Regions from separate parts of the Homo sapiens genome. Here region 1 is linked to region 2. The links are contacts of gene promoters, found by promoter capture Hi-C in human tissues and cell types (Jung and others, 2019). All regions are on one chromosome and are shown on one strand. The core of a region is centred on a gene start or on the middle of the fragment in contact, and the rest is flanking DNA. Distances in the headings are between cores, read along the strand shown.

The links. The method cuts DNA at HindIII sites, captures the fragments that hold promoters and counts their contacts. A contact is called where the count stands out against the background at its distance.
Region 1: a contact is called between a fragment that was not itself captured here and the fragment with the promoter of TERF1 in region 2, in 2 of the 25 tissues and cell types used here (aorta and dorsolateral prefrontal cortex).

What each region holds. Positions count from the first base shown.
Region 1 is chr8:72,292,125-72,294,824 of GRCh38, reverse strand. No RefSeq gene overlaps it. Among named protein-coding and RNA genes, the nearest start is that of TRPA1, 220 kb to the right of the region's middle. The HindIII fragment of the contact is 5,071 bases long and covers 1-2,700 here.
Region 2 is chr8:73,007,597-73,010,296 of GRCh38, reverse strand. It overlaps TERF1 (telomeric repeat binding factor 1), which reads right to left and starts at 1,433. Exons shown (of 10, transcript NM_017489.3): 1 at 1,092-1,433. The coding sequence starts at 1,410. RefSeq lists silencers at 1,488-1,537, 1,568-1,667. The HindIII fragment of the contact is 12,916 bases long and covers 1-2,700 here.

The DNA.
Region 1 (2,700 bases), core at 117-2,616, 720 kb after region 2:
TTTTTTTTTTGTTGTGCCTCTATCAGGCTTTGGTATCAGGATGATGCTGGTTTCATAAAATGAGTTAGGGAGGATTCCCTCTTTTTCCATTTATTGGAATAGTTCCAGAAGGAATGGAACTAGCTCCTCCTTGTACCCCTGGTAGAATTCGGCTGTGAATCCATCTGGTCCTGGACTTTTTTTGGTTGGTACGCTATTAATTATTGCCTCCATTTCAGAGCCTGTTATTGGTCTATTCAGGGATTCAACTTCTTCCTGGTTCAGTCTTGGTAGGGTGCATGTGTCCAGGAATTTATCCATTTCTTCTAGATTTTCTAGTTTATTTGCATAGAGGTGTTAATAGTATTCTCTGATGGTAGTTTGTATTTCTGTGGCATCGGTGGTGATATCCCCTTTATCATTTTTTATTGCATCAATTTGATTCTCCTCTCTTTTCTTCTTTATTAATCTTGCTAGCAGTCTATCAATTTGGCTGATATTTTCAAAAAACCAGCTCCTGGATTCATTGATTTTTTGAAAGGTTTTTTGTGTCTCTGTCTCCTTCAGTTCTGCTCTGATCTTAGTTATTTCTTGCCTTCTGCTAGCTTTTGAATGTGTTTGCTCTTGGGTCTCTAGTTCTTTTAATTGCGATGTTACGGTGTCAATTTTAGATCTTTCCTGCTTTCTGTTGTGGGCATTTAGTGCTATAAATTTCCCTCTACACACTGCTTTAAATGTGTCCCAGAGATTGTGTTATGTTTTGTCTTTGTTCTCATTGGTTTCAAAGAACATCTTTATTTCTGCCTTCATTTCGTTATGTACCCAGTAGTCATTCAGGAGCAGGTTGTTCAGTTTCCATGTAGTTGAGTGGTTTTGAGTGAGTTTCTTAATCCTGAGTTCTAGTTTGATTGCACTGTGGTCTGAGAGACAGTTTGTTATAATTTCTGTTCTTCTACATATGCTGAGGAGTGCTTTACTTCCAACTATGGAGTCAATTTTGGAATAAATGTGATGTGGTGCTGAGAAGAATGCATATTCTGTTGATTTGGGTTGGAGAGTTCTGTAGATGTCTATTAGGTCCGCTTGGTGCAGAACTGAGTTCAATTCCTGGATATCCTTGTTAACTTTCTGTGTCGTTGATCTGTCTAATGTTGACAGCGGGGTGTTAAAGTCTCCCATTATTATTGTGTGGTAGTCTAAGTCTGTTTGTATGTCTCTAAGGACTTGCTTTATGAATCTGTGTGCTCCTGTATTGGGTGCATATATATTTAGGATAGTTAGCTCTTCTTGTTGAATTCATCCCTTTACCATTATGTAATGGCCTTCGTTGTCTCTTTTGATCTTTGTTGGTTTAAAGTCTGTTTTATCAGAGACTAGGATTGTAACCCCTGCCTTTTTATGTTTTCCATTTGCTTGGTAGATCTTCCTCCATCCATTTATTTTGAGCCTATGTGTGTCTCTGCATGTGAGATGGGTTTCCTGAATATAGCACACTGATGGGTCTTGATTCTTTATCCAATTTGCCAGTCTGTGTCTTTTAATTGGAACATTTAGCCCATTTACATTTAAGGTTAATATTGTTATGTGTGAATTTGATCCTGTCGTTATGATGTTAGCTGGTTATTTTGCTCGTTAGTTGATGCAGTTTCTTCATAGCATCGATGGTCTTCACAGTTTCGCATGTTTTTGCAGTGGCTGGTACCAGTTATTCCTTTCCATGTTTAGTGCTTCCTTCAGGAGCTCTTGTAGGGATGGTCTTCACAGTTTGGCATGTTTTTGCAGTGGCTGGTACCAGTTATTCCTTTCCATGTTTAGTGCTTCCTTCAGGAGCTCTTGTAGGGCATGCCTGGTGGTGACAAAATCTCTCAGCATTTGCTTATCTGTAAAGTATTTTATTTCTCCTTCACTTATGAAGCTTAGTTTGGCTGGATATGAAATTCTGGGTTGAAAATTCTTTTCTTTAAGAACGTTGAATATTGGCCCCACTCTCTTCTGGCTTGTAGAGTTTCTGCTGAGAGTTCTGCTGTTAGTCTGATGGGCTTCCCTTTGTGGGTAACCCGACCTTTCTCTCTGGCTGCCCTTAACATTTTTTCCTTCATTTCAACTTTGTTGAATCTGACAATTATGTGTCTTAGAGTTGCTCTTCTTGAGGAGTATCTTTGTGGCGTTGTGTGTATTTCCTGAATTTGAATGTTGGCCTACCTTGCTGGTTGGGGAAGTTCTCCTGGATAATATCCTGCAGAGTGTTTTCCAACTTGGTTCCATTCTCCCCGTCACTTTCAGGTACACCAATCAGACATAGATTTGGTCTATTCACATAGTCCCATATTTCTTGGAGGCTTTTTTGGTTTCTTTTTACTCTTTTTTCCCTAAATTTCTCTTCTCACTTCATTTCACTCATTTGATCTTCCATCACTGATACTCTTTCTTCCAGTTTATTGAATCGGCTACTGAAGCTTGTGCATTCGTCACATAGTTCTCATGCCATGTTTTTCAGCTCCATCAGGTCATTTAAGGACTTCTCTACATTCGTTATTCTAGTTAGCCATTCGTCCAGTCTTTTTTCATGGTTTTTAGCTTCTTTGCAATGGGTTCGAACTTCCTCCTTTAGCTCGGAGAAGTTGGATCTTCTGAAGCCTTCTTCTCTCAACTTGTCAAAGTCATTCTCCATCCAGCTTTGTTCTGTTGCTGGTGAGGAGCTGTGTTCCTTTGGAGGGGGAG
Region 2 (2,700 bases), core at 184-2,683:
TGGAAGATAAAGGATGGGGCTGAAACACTCCCTTTTAACCTATCAGTACCTTAAAACTAAGATTATTTGCCTAACTCACAGGATTATGGTGAAGATGAAATGTGTCAAAATGTCTAAGAATTCTATTAAATAGCATAATTATAGTATTATAAATATATACTTGCACAGTAATTTTAGCGCCAACTATGAATGAAGTACCAGAACATCTTTCTGTTGTTTTTCAAAAAGCTACACTAGGCCAGGCGCGGTGGCTCATACCTGTAATCTTACAGCTGCGGGTGGTGGTGCACGCCTGCAGACCCAGCTACTCCAGAAGCTGAAGCGGGAGGATACCTGAGCCTGAGGAGGTCGAGCCTGCAGTGAGCTGTGATGGCGCCACTACACTCTCCAGCCTGGGTGACAGTGAGACCCCATCTTGGGACGGGGGCGGGGTGCAGCAGATTTCATGAACAGTTTCATTCATTCATTTATTTATTCATACAGGGTATCACTCTGTTACCCAGGCAGGACTGTAGTGGCACGATCTCGACTCACTGCAACCTCTGCCTCTTGGGTTCAAGCGATCCTCCCACCTCAGGCTCCCAAGTAGCTGGGACTTGCAGGCATGTGGCCAACATTTACTTTTATTCTGAGACTACACAGAATAAAAGTAACTGCTGTAGAGCCAGCAGGCCAAATGAGATTTAATAGCTCACAAATTAACATAAAACACTGATGCCTCGGGGGTTACTGGAGGCCACAGGGACTGCTGAATATTACTACAGGAATACCTGAGTAGAAAGCGCCAAAAGAGACAAAGGTACTGGGTTGAGTGGAACTGTATACATTTTAACTCATTTAATGCTTGCATCAAACCTAAACAGGGTCTTATTTTCATTTTATCGAAGAGGAAATCAATCTGAGAAAAACTCAGGTGCTGACAACGGGCGAACCGGGATTCGAACAAAGTTCAGCCCGGAGCCTCGGACTCCCAGCTAATCGGCCGCAGCAGCCCCTCCCTCGGCGACGTAGGGAACCAGCCCTCTGCCGCGCACCACGGAGCCCGCATCCGCCCCCCGCGTAGTCCCGGCCCGGACGCGGTCTGCACTCACCCTCTGCGCTGTTGCGGGTCCTGCGGAAGTCCTCGGAGCGGCCGTCGCGGAAAGCTCGGCAAAGAGAGAGGCAGAGGAAATCGAGCATCCAGCCGGCAGCCACGGCCTCGGCCTCGGCCACCAGGCCCGCGTCCTCCTCCTCCTCCTCCTCCTCCTCGGGGGCCCCCACCTGCACCTGGCACTCGAGCAGTTCCTGGCATTCGAACTGCTCCTCGTCGTTTCTCTCTGTTTCTGCCATCTGCTCCTCAGTAGGGTCGGCATCCCTACCATCCGCACAGCCCCGCGGGCTCGGGGCCGCTGAGGAAACATCCTCCGCCATGTTAAATGGCTCGCTTGGGTACTGCCCCTTCAGGCGCCGAGCAACGATTGGCTCGCATTCGAGGGCTCGGGGCGTGGCCGCGGAGAGTCTCTTCCGCCGGCGGGACATGGGCGAGCGGTTCAAGCCTGGCTTCTGATTGGCCGACACCTGTTCCGGCTTCTGATTGGCCGACACCTGTTCCTGCCTCTGGGCGTTGAATTTGCCGCCAGTCTAGGGCAGGGCTTTGTAGGTAAACCGGACGACTCCATACTGAGCGAGGAGCGAGATTAGGATAGGAGGAGGCAGCTTTATCTTCCTTATTCCTTGTAAAATGCAACCTTGACTGGAACAACAACACGGTTATTTAAAATGAAAACGCATTTGCCTGCAGCCTATTTCAGAAAGAGATGGGTAATGAGAACTTGTCACTATTAGACAAGCGTAACACTTTTAAACCCTAGTTTTCATCTAACAGTTACTACGTGATCACGAACAACAACTATTACAACTGACAATATCCATGCTTCTCCAACCTTAAGATGCATCAGAATCAGCCTGGGGGCTTGCTAAAACACAAATTGCCGGGCTCCACTCCCAGAATTCCTGTTCTGCTGGTCTAGCTTGGGATCCTTGAATTTGAAAGTCCAACGCTACTTGGCTGGGCACCACATTTTGAGATCAGTGCTCTAGAAAGAGTATACTATAATGGAAATGTATCTCAATCAAGGTTTGAGATCGACTATAGAATGCAGTTTGTAGAAAACAAGTGAATGCTTATTTTGAATTTTGAAACTTAGCACAAAAAGAAATTCTAAATGGGGATGGGTGGTCTGGTTATTGTTTTTGTTTTTTGTTTGTTTTTTTTTTTTCCTTTGAGACAGGATTTCGCTCTGTTGCTCAGGCTGGTCTCCAACTCCTGGCTTCAAGTTATCCTCCTGCCAAAGTGCTGGGTTTACAGGCCTGAGCCACAACGCCTGGCTCCGTTTTCTGTTCCTTGATGTGGGTTCACTTTATGAAAATTCACTGAACATCGTTTATGCACTTTTCAGTATGTGTGTCATAATTGAATAAAAAGTTTATTTTAAAAGCCTTTCTGTTTATAACGCATCCAGCATCATCAAAGCCTTTCCACATTTTCACACACTTCTTGTTATTGTCTTTAAGGTGGTACAGTTTAAGTGTTGAGTAACTAAGGCACTGTATTCTAGTATTAAGAATGCTTAGGTTGGAATATTCCCTACCAGTTACTCACTAGCTGTGTGACCTTGGGTAAATTACGTGTCAGTTTTCTTGTCCGTATAATGTGAATAA